6 separate regions of the Homo sapiens genome follow, and all the other regions are linked to region 5. The links are contacts of gene promoters, found by promoter capture Hi-C in blood cells and fetal thymus (Javierre and others, 2016). All regions are on one chromosome and are shown on one strand. Each heading gives the region's core, a stretch centred on a gene start or on the middle of the fragment in contact. The rest is flanking DNA. Distances are from core to core; before and after follow the strand shown. Region 1 overlaps PLCXD2 (phosphatidylinositol specific phospholipase C X domain containing 2). Region 2 overlaps ATG3 (autophagy related 3). Region 3 overlaps BTLA (B and T lymphocyte associated). Region 4 has its middle 17 kb from the start of BTLA. Region 5 holds the start of C3orf52 (chromosome 3 open reading frame 52). Region 6 holds the start of BTLA (B and T lymphocyte associated).

Evidence for each region. Contacts are between HindIII fragments. The CHiCAGO score rates a contact against its expected background, and 5 or more counts as called.
Region 1: a fragment that was not itself captured here is called in contact with the fragment with the promoter of C3orf52 in region 5 in 1 of 17 cell types (endothelial precursors); the score reaches 7.7 in endothelial precursors.
Region 2: a contact is called between a fragment that was not itself captured here and the fragment with the promoter of C3orf52 in region 5, in 2 of 17 cell types (non-activated CD4 T cells and total CD4 T cells). The highest score is 6.0, in non-activated CD4 T cells.
Region 3: a contact is called between a fragment that was not itself captured here and the fragment with the promoter of C3orf52 in region 5, in 2 of 17 cell types (non-activated CD4 T cells and M2 macrophages). The highest score is 6.0, in non-activated CD4 T cells.
Region 4: a contact is called between a fragment that was not itself captured here and the fragment with the promoter of C3orf52 in region 5, in 4 of 17 cell types (total CD4 T cells, naive CD8 T cells, naive CD4 T cells and 1 more). The highest score is 6.2, in total CD4 T cells.
Region 6: a contact is called between the fragment with the promoter of BTLA here and the fragment with the promoter of C3orf52 in region 5, in 2 of 17 cell types (non-activated CD4 T cells and naive CD4 T cells). The highest score is 6.4, in non-activated CD4 T cells.

The regions. Positions count from the first base shown.
Region 1 is chr3:111,698,250-111,701,806 of GRCh38, reverse strand. The region is part of intron 1 of PLCXD2 (phosphatidylinositol specific phospholipase C X domain containing 2); the gene reads right to left. Among named protein-coding and RNA genes, the nearest start is that of PLCXD2-AS1, 23 kb to the right of the region's middle. The HindIII fragment of the contact is 872 bases long and covers 1,734-2,605 here.
Region 2 is chr3:112,546,408-112,549,916 of GRCh38, reverse strand. ATG3 (autophagy related 3) reads left to right here. Exons shown (of 12, transcript NM_022488.5): 5 at 1,277-1,384. Among named protein-coding and RNA genes, the nearest start is that of ATG3, 14 kb to the left of the region's middle. The HindIII fragment of the contact is 5,639 bases long and covers 1-3,509 here.
Region 3 is chr3:112,475,313-112,479,052 of GRCh38, reverse strand. All of the region lies in intron 2 of BTLA (B and T lymphocyte associated), which reads left to right. Among named protein-coding and RNA genes, the nearest start is that of BTLA, 22 kb to the left of the region's middle. The HindIII fragment of the contact is 4,154 bases long and covers 213-3,740 here.
Region 4 is chr3:112,514,876-112,518,526 of GRCh38, reverse strand. No RefSeq gene overlaps it. Among named protein-coding and RNA genes, the nearest start is that of BTLA, 17 kb to the right of the region's middle. The HindIII fragment of the contact is 7,313 bases long and covers 1-3,651 here.
Region 5 is chr3:112,085,039-112,088,639 of GRCh38, reverse strand. It overlaps C3orf52 (chromosome 3 open reading frame 52), which reads right to left and starts at 2,251. Exons shown (of 6, transcript NM_024616.3): 1 at 2,095-2,251. The coding sequence starts at 2,232. RefSeq lists silencers at 2,337-2,386, 2,407-2,456, 2,507-2,556 and an enhancer at 2,073-2,589. The HindIII fragment of the contact is 3,182 bases long and covers 33-3,214 here.
Region 6 is chr3:112,497,592-112,500,813 of GRCh38, reverse strand. BTLA (B and T lymphocyte associated) reads left to right here and starts at 1,342. Exons shown (of 5, transcript NM_181780.4): 1 at 1,342-1,543. The coding sequence starts at 1,456. RefSeq lists enhancers at 1,621-1,750, 1,841-1,890, 2,759-2,878. The HindIII fragment of the contact is 2,386 bases long and covers 1-2,345 here.

The DNA of each region.
Region 1 (3,557 bases), core at 920-3,419, 390 kb after region 5:
TCATTTAACCAGTTACCAAAACCTTACATTTGACCTTTGTAACATACATCAAACCTGTCTCTTTCATTAACCTTCAACTGCCACTGTTCTCATTGATAGACTCATTGCCTGTCAAATAGTACCAAAAACCACCCAAACAAACAGAAACCCTAATTTGGGTCCTTTCACTCTAATTTGTTCATACTTAAAAGGTAGTTTTCTTAAGATACAGCTTTGATTATGACACATTCCTCCCACTTCCCGCCTTCCAAATAAAGCTCAAACTCAACACTGGGGGTTTAGAATTGTCTTCAATATGGTACCAATGCATTATTTCAGACTCATCTCTTACCAGGCCCCTACTTATAGCCTGGAAACTGTTGGTATGCAACATACACAGATAGGCAGGCCCCTTTCTGGACTCTGTTCACTTTTGCTGATACTCTGTAAAATATTTTCTCACCCCAAATATGTCTATATTTTCTCCCCAGCATTTGTAACCCATATTGAGTAAGTTGCTTTTTCCATGTCTCAGTTTCCTCATCTGTCAAATGGGCCAATAGTACCTATTGTCACAAAATTATTGTGAATATTGAAATGTAAGCAAAGTGCTTTGAACAATACTGACACTTAGTAAGTGCTGAACTGTAATTATTGCTATTATTAGCCATTTTTAATTAGTCAGAAATCAGAGTGTGAAGGGCTGATTAACTGAAGCTTCTTGCCTTAAATACTGATGGTCTAGAAGATTTTATTTTCTGTACCTGATTCATTGTTCCTCTCTATCTTATTAGCTGACATGGAGATGAAAACTTAGCCTCCACTCTGTTGACTATAGCCACCACCACTGTTTTGGTCACAGTCTAAGTTTGTCATCACCCACATTGAAAATCTTAAAATTTAATTTCTGACTTTTTGATCACAAGTTTCTTTACTTCTGCCACGCTGCAACCTGACTTTTATATTCTGCCCCTGACCCCCCGCCCCGCCCTACACAGTCTGAGAGCCCACAGCATTGGCTTTACTTCATCCTTCAGTTATATCCAAGATCATCCACTTGCCAGTTTTCACCTGCAGAATTATTAATTATAACTATCTGAAAGCTGTTAAGAGCCTGCTGAGGTATATTGTCTGTCTATACAGTCCTGAAATACACATACGAATATTAATATGACATTTTCTAACACACCTTTTTACTAACAACAAATTTTTTTTTTCCTCTTCTCCAATATATTTCATTTATAGAGGAGAAGCAATATGATCTTAGGAAGTAATTGGCATCAAATACTAAATGACTGTTTTCAGACTTCTCTGTGCTGAGAATTTTATGGTCATCTAAAAACTATTCCATATATAGCAGTAAATATGGACATACAAGTCCCTCCTTAATGTTCTATATGCATAGGACTAATTTTAGCCCTTAGAAAGGTGAAGTTTTTTTCCTCCAGTTTCTAGAAATTGACTTTTCTCTAATCCTTTCATTTTCACAATTACTACCCCTGTTTCTTCCTATTTTCTTTTACAGTCAACAGTCATTAACGGTGTTTCTTTTTCCTTTCTGTGTGCATACAAAAATCCTGAATCATGTATGTGAAAGCACTTTATAATGTAAAGTGGTGATCCTCAACCTTAGATGCATATCAGAATCACTGGGAGGTGGCAGAGCAGGGGGCGCTTTTAAAAAACACCAGTGCCCATGAGCTCACCCCAAACCTTCTAAGTCAAAATCTCTCTGGGACGGAAGCTGACAAGCTTCTTGCTGATTCTAATGTATACCCAGGCTTGATACTTACAGCCACAAATGTAAGATTATAGTTTCCCAAAAGTTCTCTGATTTCTGGGCATGGTCTTCTCTGGCTGGACTTCTAGTACTTTCAAACCTTCAAATAATAATCTGGTGAAGTGCCTTTCCCATGTATTGGTAGATGCTTTCTTCATCACTCCTTTTGTTCTAAGATACACCCTGCCCTTTAACCAATTAAATAACCACAGCTTGTTTGTGAAGAAGAAAAATATTGGGAGGCCTTGGTTTCCTTATCATGCCTCCTAGTATGTGATTAGATTAGGTTACTTAAGGTTTACTAGGATCCTTGGGATGTGCGCTAGGTTACAGAGCTCAGAATCAAGTCCCTGTGGCAGCAAAGTCACACGGGAAGAGAGAGATTTGAATGCGAAAAGGTTAGCAAGATTTTTACTCAGTGTTATAGTTATTGCCTCCTAGGTAGTGTTAGATTATTTGAGAGGTAAGGTATGAGAAAATGAGCTAGCTGGCCTTGTGAAGACCAGGCACAATCAGTTTGCTCTTTATCTGGAACACAAATTACTGCTTGATTCTTCCTGAGGGTTGCCATTTGGGGATTAGAGATCTCAAATGAGTGCATTCTAGTTTTTAAAGCACTTTCATTACCCATTTCTTGCAAATTGGAGTAGCTGCCATTTTCTGAGCTCAAATAAAAAGAATTTAAAGCAGGCTTCTTGGGAACCTGGTTTATAAATAAAACAAAAAGAATTCAAAACACACACTATGAAATGATACATTTCATTACAGTACAATGGCATTTCAGATTACATGATGACCACACTTGTAGCCATGGAGGGAAGATTGAGACAAGAGTTAAGTGAAGCTTATAAGAAGATAGAGAGAAACTCCCCATCTGGGTAGGTGAGGATGGTGACCCTAAGTCAAAGAACTCCTGACTTCACATATTTAAGAAAACCTCCTGTCTTCACCTCCCTTAGGTCCTCCTGTCTCTAAGTCCTTCTAACTTTGAAGCCCATTAGTTCCTGCAGGTGCTTCACTGATCCCACTCTCCCCACCCCATGTGTATTGACACCATTCAGTGTATCTGTGCCTTTAGGCACTGACATTGCAAAAATTTGTTCTTAGGGAGTGAAAAATCTTATTCTTCTATGTACAAAGTACAGATACATCTGAGTGTTATAATTTCACAGGGGAGGAGGGGGGGAAATAAGGAATAGAAATGCCTAATAAGACTCCTTCAGGGAGTGATTATGAACAAAAGGCTGAGACAGACCACCACCCTAGACTGAGGTTCCTGGCTTGTCTGGGCTGAACCTCTGACACTGTCTCTTTTTATCCTTAATTGGCCTGCCTCTCAATGCCTCCAGCAATGTTTCCCTCCCATCCATAAGGTGACCCAGTACTGGAAGGTTCTATTCCCATCCCCTGTCTCTAGAACACTAATGGGTTGGGAACCACTGAATTTCTTCTTTTCCAGTAATCTTTTTAAGTATTCTCACTTGCAATTTCCAGGACTACCAACAAATCATTTTTCTGTCTACACAGTCCCAAAGGACTCAGACTTGCACTTTGTAAGATACTAGTTAAGAAAGAACTTCACAAATGGTGAGTCCTAACACCTAACTTAGTGAATTACCATAGCTCTGAATAAGCTAAATGGAGTGTCCCCGCAGTGGATAGGGGCACAGAGTCTGTTGTCAGGCTGCCTGAGTTCATAATCCTGGCTCTACTGCCTACTAGTTATGTGAATAAAATGCTGGGCCTCAGTTTCCTCATCTGCACAATGTGGACAACAGCAGTACTAACTTCATTGGTC
Region 2 (3,509 bases), core at 294-2,793, 460 kb before region 5:
AAATTCATACTACCTATGACATCTAAAAGCTCAGAGCTGACGATGTTATTATCCGTTGTGTCATTGAAGGACACAAAAATATTTTGAAACAGGTAGTGGTTTTTTTTTTTTTTTTTTTGGTTGTTTTGAGACAGAGTCTCACTTTGTTGCCCAGGCTAGAGTGCAGTGGCCTGATTTTGGCTCACAGGTTCAAGCGATTCTCCTGCCTCAGCCTCCCAAGTAGTTGGGATTACAGGCCTGCCACCACGCCCGGCTAATTTTTGTATTTTTAGTAGAGACAGGGTTTTGCCATGTTGGTCAGGCTGGTCTCGACCTCCTGACCTCAGGTGACCTGCCCACCTTGGCCTCCCAAAGTGCTGGGATTACAGGTGTGAGCCACCGCGCCTGGCTGAAACAGGTAGTGTTTTATTTATGAAGTTAAATTTAAAAACAACATCAAAAGGTTGTTATAGTTCCTAACTAATCACAAAACAATACATTGATTTCTGTTCCAATTTACTCATTATAGGAAAGGGAAAATAAAGTGAACAGAACAGCAGTTTTTTCTTTTCTACAGCATATTTCTTTTTACAAAGGCTGATAATTTATATCCTGATTGTTTTAAAAAAATCAGGAGATTAAAAAGCAATTTGTTGACCTTATACCATAATGCTTTTACCATATAATTACCCAATCTTAGGCTTATGAATAATAATACCTGTTAATTGACACATTTGCTGTATGAACAACTTACTAGTGTGGTATAAAGAAGTAAAAATCAGAAGGTTGGTGAATTTTAAACTGTTTTATCCATTGTGAATAACTGGAACTTAAATATGAATTATAAAATTTATATTGAAAGTTACTTTAGCCTTGAAAACAAGAGTTCACCTTTACCACCACTGACTATGATAGCTGGTAGCTCCATGTTCTGAAAGTAAAGCCATTAAAATAAGGTATTATTATTCATTAGACTGAAATTGAACTATGATATGTATCTCTGACATCAGCCTGCTGTTCTTCACAGACCATCATGGTAAAGGAATGCATAGAACATTCCCAATAGAGCTTTTCTACTTGTCTTCTGACAAAGCAATTTAGGAAAAGGTAAATGTAGCCAAATAATTATGTGTCTATGAGCTGAATGTAACTCTTAATCACCTTTAAAAGTGAAATATTCACTTAGTACTTTGGTGGTATAAACACCCTATTTTATGGACTAAGCTCTCTTCTTTCTAATGGATTTATGGTTAGCAGATTACGTGCTAGTTAACTGTATTTACCATTTTTTTTATAGTGCCGTGCTATAAGCGGTGCAAACAGATGGAATATTCAGATGAATTGGAAGCTATCATTGAAGAAGATGATGGTGATGGCGGATGGGTAGATACATATCACAACACAGGTAAGAGGAGAATAAAATGACATATATTTAGTTTAAATTAAACTCTTTCACAATCTTTTATAATAGCCTTGATTTAAAAAAGAGGATACATAAGGCATAGTTTTGTCCCAATAGACTTACATGAAAAAAGCAGGAGGACAAATTTTAAAAAAGAAGCCTTTAGAGTATGCCAAATTTATTTCTTTTTTTGAGACAAGAGTCTTGCTCTGTCACCAGGCTGGAGTGCGATCTTTGCTCACTGCAACCTCCACCTCCCGGGTTCAAGCGATTCTCCTGCCTCAGCCTCCCGAGTAGCTGGGACTACAGGTGTGCACCCCCACGCCCAGCTAATTTTTGTATTTTTAGTAGAGATGGGGTTTCACCATGTTGGTCATGATGGTCTCCATCTCTTGACCTCGTCATCTGGCTGCCTCGGCCTCCCAAAGTGCTAGGATTACAGGCATGAGCCACTGCGCCCGGCCAGAGTATGCCAAATTTCTATAATACCTGCTACTTCCATTGCAATTTGAAAATATTATTTTCTTAGTTTCTAAATACAGAGAGGGAAAAAAAAGACCGTCAGAGATGCTGAATATGCATACTACTTTGCTTTACAGTCTCTTGCTTACATGTCATTGTCATTCCATTGCTGGATTATGTGCTCCTCTATGACAGGAACTATACTGTATTCACATTTACCCAGAGAACTGACATCTATTAAGTATTTAATAATTATTTGTTAAATAACGACTAAAAGAAATTTTCAGTACTGTAAGCTCCATGAAGGTAAAGATTCATTGTTGAATTCTCAGTATCTATCACAGTGTATGATGTAGAAGTTGTTCAGTAAATATTTGTTAAATGAGTTGAATGCAAGGTTTTTATAAGTGTTTCTATGAGTTATTTGAAACCCTGAATATACTTTTTTATTCTAAGTCCTAAAACACTGTTTTGCCACTATATTTATATAACTATGTACATGCATATTATCATATGCTGCTGAAGCTAACTACCATTTATTACTTAGTTTTGATGAAGAAAATGTGCTCTAAGTTTAAATCCATGATACTAAAAACAAATTTTTCTCCCTTTGAGTCCTAGAGGTTAGGAGTTATATCCTTAGTAGTAGTAATAAAACAGGGTTTCTCAACCTTGGCACTGTTTTTTGGAATGGAAAATGTGCTCTAAGTTTAAGTCCATGATACTAAATATGTTTTTCTCCCTTCGAGTCCTAGAGATTAGGAGGTATATCCTTAGTAGTAATAGAACAGGGTTTCTCAACCTTGGCACTGTTTTTTGGAATGGATAATTATTTTCTGTGCATTGTAGAATGCTTACCAGTATCTCTGGCCTGTAACCACTGGATACCAGTAGCATCCCTCAGTTTTAACAACCAAAAATGCCTCCAGAAATTGCTGAATGTTCTGTTGGGGGAAAAATTGCTGCCTTCAGTTGAGACTCACTGCAGTAGACAGAGGGCTAAGTATCTGCCCAGGTAAAAGTTCCTTCTTAGGTCAGTTTCTCCCCTACTCTGAATAAAGGATACTGCCATCTCTTTCCTTATGGAGTTATAGGCAAAGATTCAGGACTTGGGCTCCTTGATCTGAAATTTATTGGCTTATTAATGAGTCGAGTGCTATATCAAAGCCTAAAGGAAATAACAGATTGAAAAACTTTTAAAAGTAATTTCAAAAATCATCCTTCTTTCCCCCCGCCCCACTGAGTAGTGAAAGTCTTTTAACTCTTCTGCTTTGACTTTTCCATGCCTGGAAGATGTTGGCAACACATCAGTAGGAAATTCTCTGTTGACTGACTGGATCCATTGATTGTGCATTGTTTTTGATGTCAAGTTAGTGACTTATGAGGCCAGATACTGGTTCCTTTTTCAACTCAGTTTCCCTTGCTTTATCCTTGCTTTTCCTGGGCGTTTTCTTCTATTAGCTTGTGTATTAGTCATGGTTCTCTAGAGAAACAACCCATAGGATGTATACAGAGTAGGTTTTGCTTTCTGTGGTTTCAGTTATGTAGTCAACCATGGTCCAAAAATATTAAGTGCCAAATTCCAGAAATAATTCATCAGTTTTAATTTTTGTCCCCACTGTTGGGAGTAGCATGATAAAATCTGCTATCCTGATCCGTTCTGCCC
Region 3 (3,740 bases), core at 1,040-3,539, 390 kb before region 5:
CATTACAATTTCTTGAAGTTATGTTTGTGGTGCTTAGGCAATTAAACACTTCTTAATAGTTCACAGTTTGTTTAGAGGAAAAACAGCAAACAACTAACTGACTTCCTAGTGATTTTCTGGGAATATTCAGAGCTTCATCTCTCTTCCCTGTTCCCCGAAAGAGGCCTTTAATATGCTTTGACAACTGAGGAAGGACAGATAGAAGTTAAGCTTGGGGAAACCAAGCTGAATAAAACATGAAAAAATACATAGGGGGGGAGTAGGTAAGAGTAAAAAATACTTGGTTTATAAAAATTTTATAGCCAACATCATATTCAATGGTGAAAGGCTTAGAGCTTTCCCCCTAAGAACAGGAACAAGACATGGATCCTTGCTTTTGCCATTTCCATTTAACATTAAACTGAAAATTCTAGCCAGAGCAAACAGGCAAGAACAAGAAATAAAAGATATCTAACTTAGAAAAAAAGAAGTAAAACTTTATTCACAGATGGCATGAACTTATGTGTAGAAAAATTCTTAAAAATTTGTTTAAAACTATTAAAGCTAATACATGAATTTAGCAATTCCACATGATACAGGATCAACACACAAAAATCAGTGATATTTCTATACACTAGCAATAAACAATCCACAAAGAAAATTAAGGAAACAGTTCCATTTACAATAGCATCAAAATGAATAAAATATTTAAGTACAAATTTAACCAAAGAGGTATAAGAGTTGTACACTGAACAAAGAAAGCATGGCTGAAAGAAATTCAAGAATATGTAAATAAATGCAAAGACATTCTGTATTCATGGACTGAAAGATGTAATATTGTAAAGATAGCAATATTCCCCAAGGTGATCTACAGATTCAATGCAGTTCCACTAAAATCCTAACAGCTTTTTGTTGCTATTGCAGAAATAAAAAAGCTGATCCTAAAATTCACATTGAGTTGCAACAGACCCAGAATTGCCAAAACAATCTTGAAAAAGAACAAAACTGAAGCTAAGACTTCCCTATTTCAAAACTTACTACAAAATGACAGTTAAAAAAAAAAAAAAAGAATAGTATTGTCATGGATAGACAAAGAGATCAATGTAAATAGAATTGAGAGTCCAGAATAAACTCCATACATCCGTAGTCAATTGATTTTTGATAAGGGTACCAAGATTATTCAGTGGGGAAAGAATAGTCTCAATAAATGGTGCCAGGATAATTGGATATTCATATGTAAAAGAATTAATTTGAACCCTCATCTCACTCCATATTTTAAGCAATCAAAATAAGTCAGACATTTAAGTAGAAGAGCTAAAACTATAAAAACTGCATTATATAAAACAATAAAACTCTGATTTCTTAGGAGAAAACATAGGGATAAATGTTTCTGATCTTGGATTTAGCAGTGTTTTCTTAGCTATGATTACAAAAGCATAATCAACAATAACACCAAAAATAGATAAATTGGACTTCATAAAAATTAAACACTTCTGTGCATCAAAAGATACTAAAATTCAACAACAAATAGACTGGCAACCTAATTTTAAAATGAGCAAAGGACTTGAATAGACATTTCATCAAAGAAAATATACAAATGGCCAATAAACATATGAAAAAAATGCTCAATGTCATTAGTTACTGGAGAAATGCAAATCAAAGTCACAGTGAAAACCCACTTCACACCCATCGAATGACTAGAATAAAAAAAAAAAACACAGAAAATAATAAGTGTTAGCAAGGATGTGAAGAAATAGAAACCCTATCCATTGCTGAGGAGAATGTAAAATGGTGCAGTCACTTTAGAAAGTGGTCTAACAGTTCCTCAAAATCAAAAGATAAAACCTACTTGTCACAGTACCCAGTAATTCTATTCCTAGGTAAATACTCAAATGAAATTAAAATATATGTTCACACAAAACCTTGTTCCTGAATGTTTATCACAGCACTATTCACAATAGCCAAAAGGTAGAAACAACCTAAATGTTCAGCTGATGAATGGATAAAGGAAATGTAGTTTATCCACACACGGAATATTATTCAGTCATGAAAAGGAATGAAGTACTAATGTATGCTACAACATTGATGAACCTCAGAAGCATTACGCTAAGTAAAAGAAGAAAAAGGTTACATACAATGTGATTCTGATTATATGAAATATCCAAAATAGGCAAATCCATAGAGACAGAAAGTAGCTTGGTGGTTGCCAGGGGCTGAGGAAATAAAGAATGTGACATGACTACTAAATAGGTAGAGGGCTTCCTTTTGGGGTGATAAATATGTTCTGAATCTAGATCGTAGTCACGTTTGCAAAACATTGTGAGTATCTTACATGCCATTTAATTGTACATTTTAAATGATTAAATTGGTAACTTTTATGTTATATGTATTTTACCACAATAAAAATATATTTGGATCAAAGAAGAGTGCCCTTTAATTATAAGAAATAATGTGGAGTTTCTTTTGTTGCTCATAAATTGACCCTTAAAGTTACTGGGAAGGAGAAATTTCAAAAGAGGGTTATTGCAATAGCAGCATGGCTGAACTCTGGATGCAACCTCGTACAGTTTAGTTCCTTTATGGACATCATTCACTTGAATGCATACATTTTACAACTGATCTTTTTAAAATTAATTTGTTACTTTATATGCTTACTTTTGAGTGTCTTTCAACTCCCTTAAAGTAGCCCAGTGAAGGAATCCATTGAAATTCTTTTAAAATGCTTTAGGTTAGTTTAAAATTTCTTACAGCAGCACCATGAAAAAATGCATAGCAGTTTAGCAGTAGCTACAACCCTCAATTATGAAATATAGAAGAAATCGATGGCAGAGTTAGGGACTCTGCTTTTGCAAATATAGCGTGAAGCTCGGTGCTAGTTACTTGTGACCATCCATGCACTGGCTTATAAACCTCTTCAGGATGGAAGCTGTGTCTTAAACATCTTTGCTCTGTATGATGGATGGCAGGGTACCTGGCACATGGTAGGGGCTCACTAAATATTTCTTTGTAAATGAATTAAAGAACATAGTATATGCAAAGCACAAAAATTGTCTTCATCAACCTGGAGAAGGCTATATTAAGGATGTATGGAATGAACACTTTCTGGAAAGAATTGCATTATTAATTCACATTAATGAGACAAAATATTGAATTTTTAACAAATACTATTTTTTAAACAGGTAAAATAAATTACAAAAATAAGGAAAATCTGCAAAATATTAATTCTAGAATGATATATACTATTGAATAAATAAGTGCTATTAACTAATTTATATAATATATTAACATAATGTATAATAAAATTAAATTTTGAGGCATTGAGTCCACCTTCCTTGGAAGAGAAGCCTTGTGTAATTCAGTCTTTCTTTATGGGAACTAATCTACTTCTATACGAGACATGAATTTAGCCAAGGTCAGATGAAAGGTCAGAAGTTAATAATTAATTGTGATACAAAAGTCTGTTACACAAAAGTAGCATTGCAATTTCTGCTCTATCCCATATTTGGGTCATTCATGATGACTAAAGATAATCTGTAGTTTGTAAAGTGCATAAAGGTGCCTGTTCTAGGGATCAAGTTGGGGCTGAGATTAGGATCAACAATCTATCTATTTTGTGGAGGAAAGAACCCAACTTTAGGGGAAAGGGAATAACATTCCCTCCTAAATCCTGTGCCTTGGGGGGTTTTATGGAACAAAGTATGTGAAGTATGAAGTGGTGAAAGAGAAAGTCTAAGAGCTAAATAGGAGACATGAAGGGCCTT
Region 4 (3,651 bases), core at 879-3,378, 430 kb before region 5:
CTTTGTTGTTGTTTTAACAAATAATAGTATTTCTTATCTAGCATTTTTTAACATTTGGCCAGTTCATCAGTTGCAAAATCAGTTATTGTGTCTTTCTTAATATGAAATGATGGAATACAATCAAACAAGTAAAAATATCAACATACATTAGCAAGAAAAAATTTTGTTCTTTGTTCCAGCTATGTCTGTCTATGCATACTGGGTAGAGTGGTAAAATTAATTTCATATTGTAGATTGTGAAAAATTTGAAATTTTGAAAGCCACTGCTATATATATATTGAAAATTTGAAAGCCACTGCTATATATATTGATACAGTTTTTGCTTTTATCACTGTATTAATCTGCTAAGGCTGCAATAACAAACTACCACAGATTGAACAGAATGGCTTAAACAACAGAAATTTATTTTCTCACATTTCTTGGGGCTAGAGTATAAGAAGATGTTAGCATGGTTGTTTCCTCTGAGGCCTCTCTCTTTGGCTTGTAGGTGGTTGTCTTCATGTTCACATGGTGTTCTTCCTGTATGCATATTGTTAAAGAAAAAAATTATTTTATAATGCTTGTTGATGGGCATTTGGGTTGATTCCATGTCTTTGCTGTTTGTGAATAGTGCTGCAATGAACATATATGTGCATGTATCTTTATAATTGAATGATTTATATTCCTTTGGGTATATACCCAGTAATGGAATTGCTGGGTCAAATGGTATTTCTGGTTCTATGTCCTTGAGAAATCACCACACTGTCTTCCATAATGGTTGTTCTAATTTACATTCCTACCAACAGTGTAAAACTGTTCTTATTTCTCCACAGCCTCACCAGCATCTGTTGTTTTTTGACTTTTTAGTAATCACCATTCTGACTGGTGTGAGATGGTATCTCATTGCGGTTTTGATTTGCATTTCTCTAATGATCAGGGATGTTGAGCTTTTTTTCATATGTTTGTTGGCTGTACTTCTTTTGAGAAGTATCTGTTCATGTCCTTTGCCCACTTTTTAATGGGGTTTTTTTTTTCTTGTAAATTTGTTTAAGTTCTTTGTATACTCTGGATATTAGACCTTTGTCAGATGGATAGATTGAAAATGTGGTACATATACATCATGGGATACTATGCAGCCATAAAAAGGAACAAGATCATGTCCTTTGCAGGAACATGGTTGGATCTGGAAGCCATTATCCTCAGCAAACTAACACAGGAACAGAAAACCAAAGGCCACATGTTCTCACTTATAAGTGGGAGGTGAACAGTGAGAACACATGGACACAGGGAGGGGAACAACACACCCTGGGGCCTGTCGGTGGGGGTTGGGGGAGGGAGAGCATCAAGAAAAGTAGTTAGTGTATACTGAGCTTAATACCTAGGTGATGGGTTAATAGGTGCAGCAAACCACCATGGCACATGTTTACCTGTGTTTACTTATGTAACAAACCTGCACATCCTGCAGGTTATGTACCCTGGAATGTAAAATAAAATAAAAAACTAAAGTTCAGATCTTGAAATTGTAAAACAGAGAACATAAAGCAAACACACTTAATATGTTACAAAGAAAATGAGAAATGCAAAAATAATAATAATAATAATACTTATTAAAGCACAGTGAAGAAGACTTTATTCAGGACCATTGCAATAGGTATAGGTAACACCACAATGAGATTTTGCAGCCTGGGAGAAAGATTGGACTTAATTCCAAACACAGCATGGGCAAGTGGGAATTTATAGCCAAGGAGCAGGGTGGGGGTCAATGGATGGAAAATTACTAAAAGGAAACATCAGGGGTGAGGAAGATTTCAGCTAAACCAACTTCACAGGATTCTTGCTAAAAACAGAACAAGGTGATTTATTACCTGTGGGATAGTGGAGGATGAGGAACTTGATCAGATGTCACGGTTGATCAGCTACTGGGGGAGAGGGGTTCTTACTAAATGAGTTTTTGGATAAAGCAGATTTTACAAGGAGGTGCACAGATGGGCCTAGGAGAAGGTTAGGGAGCCTGACTGAAGTTTGGTCAAGTTAGAATCTGTGTCAATATCTGTACAAAATTCCTCTTCTTACAAGGACATAAATCATATTCGATAAGGGCCTACATTACTGACTTCATTTTAACTTAGTTACCTCTTTAAAGACCCTATTTATAAACATAGTCACATTATTAGGTATTGGGTATTAGAAGTTCAGCATGAAATTTGGTGTAACACACTTCAGTCTATAATGATCACATAAAAAATCTTGGAGATCAATCCATACAAACACATAAAGGCTGCTTCATTTTATTTCATTATTGGACTATATTTCCTTCTCCTTCTGTCTTACTCCCCCCTACACAACCTCAAATAATAATTAGTGCTTTTGTAAAGGATTATGAGTTCATTGTAAAAATTGCAAACAAGTACAAAGAAGAAAATAAAAAATCAGGTTCATTATTATCTCTTGGAGCTAATATTTTTGACATTTTGATGAATATTCTTTTAATGAGCCCTTTGTGTCTAAATACATATATAGATGTATATGTTCATGAATATATGTAAATGAGTATATGGATATGTATGCATTAACCAAAACTGGGATTGTACCATTTATGTATTCCTGTAATCCTCGTCACTAAACAATATGAGGGGACCGTCTTCTTTAAGAAATATATTAATAGATCTATATTATGATTAACAATGCTTACCTAGTATTTAGTTGTATGGATGTTCAATTAATCATCTAACAGGTCATTTAATTTGCTTATATTTTTTCTGTTATAATCAAGACTTATGTCTTGATTACATCTTTGCACACTTGTGTGATAATTCCCATGGAGTAAATTCTTGGAAGTAAGAATACAAAGTTGGCAGCCACTTTACTATTTTAATATATACAATAATTTTAAGCTATCTTCTAAATAGTTTATACTAATTTATACACTCACCACAAAAATTAAAAAAACATGAGTTCTTATATATCTACACTGTCACTAATAATATTAGAATGTATTATTTAGCATTTTTAAAAATAAAATTAGTTTTTATTTGCACTTACAAGTGAAAGCATCTTTTCTCCCAACATTTTATTTACAACATACAACAAAGTTTGAATTCATTTTACAGCAAACACTAATGCACACCATCTTGATTCTACCATTAACATTTTACTATAGTAACAATATAACTATCCTTCTATCTGTACCTTTACCCATCCATTTAATTCATCTTTTAAAATGCATTTTAAAGGAATTTACAGGAATCCATACACTTTACCCAAATTGCAGTTGACCATTGAAAACACAGGTTTGAAATGTTTGAAATGTGCAGGTTGACTTATATGTGGATTTTTTTCAATACATATATTGGAATTTTTTTTGGAGATTTGTGACGATTTGAAAAAACTCAGATGAACCACTTAGCCTAGAGATAACAAAAAAATTAAGAAAAAGTTATGTCATGAGCATATAACATATAACAAAATATAAAAAGTTATTTATCAAAACTGACACAAGCAAACACACACCATACATGGTGCAATTTGAAGTTCAGAAAAATATAAACAAATGTAAAGGCAGTATTAAACTACACAAAATTAACTGTAGTACATACTTGACTCAGCTGAGTGACCAGAGGCCTTGTGGGTGTATCTGGGCAAGGGGTTAGGGGGGTTGAACCCCTGTGCAGC
Region 5 (3,601 bases), core at 1,002-3,501:
GGTTTGAGATCTAAAAAACATACGTTCAAGCTTCAGAGGCACCACTGAGTGAACTTGAGGATTTTGGTAACTCCTCTGAGCCTCCCTCAATTTCTTCACTCAGCATCTTCAATCTGACAAACCAGAATACTGACGCCTTCCTCTTAAGTTAGTTGTGATAATTAAATGCATTTATGCATCAAAAGTATTTGTCACAAGACAGTTACTAAACAGGGTTAATGAAAATACATGGACTTCAGCTACATTTCAAAATTAGAAATCTTAATATACAGTTCAAAGAGACCAACACACAAAATTCTTAAGTGTCTGAATCTTTTTAATGAGCCTATATTTATTGACTTTTCTAACTGAAATACACTTCACTTTATTTTATAGGACAAAAGAGAATGATTAACACATTAGATGAGATTAGTTCAAGGCATTCCTTGAACACACTCCAAGTACTCCTGTAGCCCTTCACCTTCACTCCATCCTGTTACTGAGGACAGCTCTCCTATTGGGTGACCTACAAAGCTAACTTACAAAGAAGTCCAGGGTATCTGTATATACCTTACTAACAAGGACGTCATGAGAACATTAAAGAACCATTGCTACAGGGTAGGTGCTAAACAATTACAGAATACTGATAACCCTGCATGGATTTGGCTTGTTCTACCCACCACCTGTTTTCAACAAGGCATTCCCAGGCCTCACAGAAGGCCGAGTAGGCACACATTACCACTACGGGACAGGCTTGCCTCTGGGACACACTTCTTAGTGGCAAAACTGTCACCAGATTTCTGGATTCAGCCCCAAGCTAGGGAGTCTTTAGGGTGTGCGGGTCCATCTAATCTGAGGCAAGTATTTCCAACTCCCATTCCTGGACACCGCCCTGGAGGACTCATACAGCCAGTTCACAGTTGTGGCCACTTGCACTGGTGACCAGACTATCTTTGTTCAACCTTCATTCTTCTGTGGCATTCATATTTTATTCAGAAATAAGTTTCCAAATTACTCTCCAGAGTACCTATAAAAGCAGACTTTGCAATAGTTCCAGGAATCAATGTAGAACAAAAGCAATGCTTTCAACTTTTGAATTTCCTGCTTATCCCTAAAATCAACAGCTGGGCAGCCAAAAAGTTGGGGGTGGAGGAGTGGGGCCTAGAAAGATCAGGTCGGGGCTCTATATGGGGAGTTCTGTGCACCCAGAAAACCTCAAGCCAATCTTAGGAGTTAATCAGAAGGTGGATGGCTGGGAAGTCAAAGCTCTGATGTTTTACAAGTCTTTGATGAGAGTGAATAATGTTCCCATCATTGCTAGGGATGAATCAGAAAAGAGCTTGGCCTAAAAATAGCCAGGGACTTCCTTAGGGATTGAGAGGAGGTAAAAGCAAGGTGGGCGAAGTCTCAACCTTCGAGACAAGAACTTTGAAATTATTTTCTTTCAATTGAGCAGGGCAAGTTCACCTCCCCCGCGCCGACCCCCTAACCCGCCCGCCCCATCTCTACGCCAGCCCTACCCCTTCTCCCCTTCTGACCGCTTTCTCTCCTCTGTGCTCTCCCCTATCTCTCTTCCGGCAGAATCCAATGGCCAGGCTGGGAGAAGGCAGAAAGTGCTTGGCGGATGGTAGGCATGGAAGAAGGCTGGGGGCTGCGGCGAGGTGGGTGGAGGGGAGGGAGAGAAGTGGCAAGGCAGTGAAGGTAAGAGGAGGACAGAAGAGATTCTGAGAGAAGGAGGATACTCAATTTGTCATTCTCATTCTCCCTACTGGAAAAAAGAAAAACTGAATTAAAAGTTACATAACTTTAAAAAACTACTTCCATCTCCGGAATACCTCTCTGAAGACAGCAGCGGCCACACCTCACCACTAGGATTCCTAAAGCGCCTCGGGGGTCAGAGGGGTTGGAGGACCCCAGGGGCTGGGGAGGGGACTGCTCGGGCCGAAAGGTGTCGCGGTGACTCGGCTCCATTCAGAGCACTCGAGCGCGCCCCACCCTCGCTCGGCGCCGTCGACGCCCCGCCTGACTGGAAACCCGAAACTCGCGGGTGCCAGGCCCGGGTCCTACTACTGTCCCGCCGCCGGCAAGTTAGGGCCAGCGCCAAGGGGACCTTACCTCGGCCGGGGGGACCTCCTCGTCCAAAGAAGGGAAGACCTTGTCGGCACCATTGAGAGGCGTGTTCTCTTCTGGCTGCCGCTCGAGCACCGAGAGCTCCAGCTCGTCTACTGGCTGTGAGGGTTGGGCCAGGTCCATGTGCCGGCAGGGAAAGTCTGAGCGGCTCCGCGGGAGGCCACAGCGCCGGCGAGTCGAGCGACCTCCCCGCCTCACACTCCACCCACTGGGCGGGGCGTCGCGGACCTCGGGCGGCGGGAGCGGACCGGAGCGGACAGGAGGGGCAACTGTGAGTGGCGGCCACTCCCTGGATCCCGCGGGGTAGAGCACCTGAGGCCGTGCCGGAGTGGGCTCCAGAGCCGAAGGCTGTTTTTCTGATTTGTTCAGGGCGCTGCCTGCTATGCCTTTCCCCGCGCCTGCAGATGCAGACCATCTCCGTTTAGGGGCTGCCTGGGTGCCGGGCTGTGGTAAGGAAAGGGTGGGCCCGGCAGCACCGTCCAACGGAGAAAAGTTTGCGATCTAACCCTACGAACTGTTGGTTGTTGGGGTTTGCCACAGTCCTCGCGGCCTAGCAAAAGTGCATTCATTCAATCAACAAATAACCATGCCTCGTGCCAGCATGGTGCTAGGTTCTGAGTGCATGAAGGTGAATAATATACACCAACACACTTCCTCGCAAGTCCAGAGTCAGGCACAGAGACAGTATTGTGTGGTGCTGGGGACAGCGGACTCTAAAACCAGTGTACCTGGGTTATTCTCCACCCAGAGGGTTCCTCACTGTGAGACCTCGGTCTTCATCTCTCTGTGCCAACGTCCTCATCTGGAAAGTTGGTGTAATATTTGTACCCTCCTAAATGTAGTTGTTACCAGGATTACAAGGGTTGTTGTAAGCAAAGCACTCAGAACAGTGATTGACACAGCAAGCACTCATAAATGACCATTATTATTTATCTTTGAGAGGAGGGGCCTTACACACACACACACACACACACACACACAATGCACGCGCACACACAATCTCCTTGACACCCTATCTGTAGTTCAGAACTTCCGGTTTAGTTAGCATGGAATTATGTTTGTTAAGCACAGCATGGGTTGGGCCAAGGGCCTCAACTCTCAAGCTTCTGTTCCGAATAGTCTTGCTCCTTACTTCTCACCCTCCACGCAACACACACACACACACACACACACACACACACATTAAGACCAGACCATTAACAAGAAGCATATAAATCAGCTCCACTCCAAATATGTTGACTTGAGTCCAAAAGTCTGGCATCTTCAGTACCTGATGTTGAGACACAGCCTAGATATCCTGTCTCCAGCAGTCTGATGCCTGCTACCAGATCCCCTGAACTTTGGATCCATCTGCCTGCTAAGGGGAGTCTGCAGTGACTCATCTGCTGACCTGCACTGACTTCTGCTCCAACAGGTGGATCTTGCAAGAATCAGGCTGCATTCTCAGCTGGGATTTTTGAACAGGTTTTTTAACCAAGGAGCAAGGGTTAAG
Region 6 (3,222 bases), core at 93-2,592, 410 kb before region 5:
ATACTGCCTTAATATTTCCCAGGATGTTTATTTGATTAGTAACAGAAATTCTAAAAGGCTATGTGTACCCTCTCTGTATTATACTATATTATAAGACCAACACTAAAGGTGGATGTGAGGAAGTCGTAATACTGATTGAACGAGTTCTTTAAAATCAGCAATAGCAACTCATTCATCATTCATCTCCAACCATAGCACATTGTCTATTTGACTCAATAAATACATGATAACTGTTTTTTAATTTTAATTTACCCTTGGCAACTCAACTGGGAGCTCTGAATTAAGTATTGCCCATCAGTTTCCCATGTCAGGTCAAAATGTCCAGCAATCTATACACTTTCCTTGCTCTTAAAACTTTCCTTGAACTTAAAACTATTGAAGTTTGGCCTTGGAATAAAATCATCAGTCTCTGAGGAAAAAACTTATATAATCGACTTCTGTCAATGATCACTAATGCCACAAATCTAGATCTCTCATTTGGAGTCTCAAATGGCAGATGAATTTGATTAGCTCCTATGACTATAAGCTAAGCTAATTATTACAAGTGGATGTGGAGAAAACAGTCCTATGGTGGCCTGTGCTATCTGATCTTGAACTTTTCCATTTCTTCCTTTACTGTTTCTATTCTACTTCATCGAGACAACAACTGCATGAAGAATGTTTAAAATGGAAATTTCCTTTAATTGATATTCAAGATCTCCTTTAGATTAGAACTTTATTATCTAGAGAGAACATGTAGCCAATATTAATGATGATCTTGTTCCATTGATATGTATCCACAGATTAAAGACGGCTGCTCTTCCTTCTTCTGTTGAGGAAGTGCTTCCTGTCACTCATTTTCTCCATAACCTGAGATAAATCTTCACTGGTTTAATGACAATAAGCATCCTCATCTTACCGTGACATGTACAGGAAAAAAAAGAAACCTAAAATCTTTTACATAAAAGAAGTTTCATAATCACAAGCTATCACAAAGGGGAAAATGTATACTTACCATTGATAGTTTTACCATAAATTTCCTGACCTTAATTTGATTAAAATCTCAACTTAAAGACTGCAACAATACAGATTTCTTTAAAGTTTAATTGCTCATTTCACTGAACATTGAGTGCAGGAAAAACCTCAACCTGGGGCAAAAACGTGGTAGAGCGGAAGGAGAAGTTAAGGACTGAGCTGCTTTGCAGATCACAGTGTTTGAAAGTGAACAGCCAACCTGACAAGAAGCAAAAACCACAGAACAGAGTACCACATCGTCTTTCTGTTCACTTTTTTTCACAAAATCATCCAGGCTCTTCCTACTCTCCTCTCTTACCACCTCTCTCTTCTTTTTTTTTTTTTTTTAGTTATTTCACAGATGCCACTGGGGTAGGTAAACTGACCCAACTCTGCAGCACTCAGAAGACGAAGCAAAGCCTTCTACTTGAGCAGTTTTTCCATCACTGATATGTGCAGGAAATGAAGACATTGCCTGCCATGCTTGGAACTGGGAAATTATTTTGGGTCTTCTTCTTAATCCCATATCTGGACATCTGGAACATCCATGGTAAGGCACCTGCTTAGGTTATTTCTGGTTTTATTTCTCAGGGGGTCTTGGAGGCAACATTCTCCCTTGCTGAACTTAGTACGGTGTAACGTTTATACGAAGTGGGTAATCGTAGATGAAACCAAGCTGTTACATTTGCTTACCGAAGACATCGTAGAGCATAAACCAAATTAGAACATAGTATTCACCTGCCTAATCATAGGCATCGCATCAATAGCTTGGCTGACTTTCTTAAAAACATGTTGATGGTAGGAAAAGAGAACTGAGTAGATGTTATAAATAGTTAAGTACAAATCTATCACTACTTCTTGCAAAAATGCTCTGGCTGCCATACTGATAATGAATAGATAGCTCGTTCTTTCCAAACTGAGTGCAGTAGAGTGCTGCAGTGCTCAGTTGGGTAGGACAGTTGTTGGATAATCGGAATTATACATATCTCCATGGTTACCCTCAAATAATATTACCTCTAAATAAAATCTCTATACTTGCTTCATTGGGATGTATGCCTTGAGAATACCGATTGAGAAAATGCTACAAAATATAGGAGCAGAACTTTTCGTCATTGCTTCTATTTTGTTGAAAGGGAATGGTTCCTACTTGGTTGTCAATTGAACACAGAAAATAAGTTGGATTCTGCAAAGATGATATTTAGCCACCCCTGCAAAGACTTTATACAGGCAAAAAAAAAAAAAAAAAAAAAAAGGCAATTTCTTTTTTATTGTAAAGTCGCTTCCTACCTTATATTGCATAGGAACCCACATATTATCAAGAGGAAAAGCCTATGAGTGGCTCATCAGAAGCTTCTGATTTTTCAGGTTTTATTTTTTTATTTTTTTGAGACAAGAGTTTTGCTCTCGTCACCCAGGCTGGAGTGCAATGGCGTGATCCCGCCTCACTGCATCCTCTGCCTCCCGGGTTCAATCGATTCTTCTTCCTCCCGGGTTCAATTTATTCTCCTGCCTCAGCGTCCCTAGTAGCTGGGATTACAGGCACCTTCCACCACGCACAGCTAATTTTTGTATTTTTAGTAGAGATGTTGGATAACCCCAATTATCCAACATCTGTCCTACCCAACTGAGCACTGCAACACTCTACTGCACTCAGTTTGGGAAGAACGAGCTATCTATTCATCATCAGTGTGGCAGCCTGAGCATTTTCGCAAGAAGTAGTGATAGATTTGTACTTAACTATTTATAACATCTACTCAGTTCTCTTTTCTTGCCATCAACCTGTTTTTTAAGAAAGTCAGCCAAGCTATGGATGCAATGCATGTTGGGCAGGCTGGTCTGGAGCTCCTGACCTCAAGTGATCCACCTGCCTCAGCCTCCCAAAGTGCTAGGATTACAGGTATGAGCCACCATGCCCAGTGATTTTTCAGGTTTTAAATATTCTGTCTTATTATTCCCTACAAGCACACATTTATCAGTTTGGCTACTGCAATTTTAAATTAGAAAATCTGGCCACTGAGGTTCTATGGAAAGTCTATCTATAATTTTAAACTGTGTAGTTTGGAATATGTCTCTATGATGCCAGGATGCCACACAACCAAGTGCAAAGTAAAAAAGTCCTTAGTTACTCAAACATCTTTATGTTTGTAAGTATCTAGTATTAAGTCAACTAGGTGCTTAGATGGTTGACTGAATTTTCCACCTTCCATCAGATGCCTACAGTCACATAGC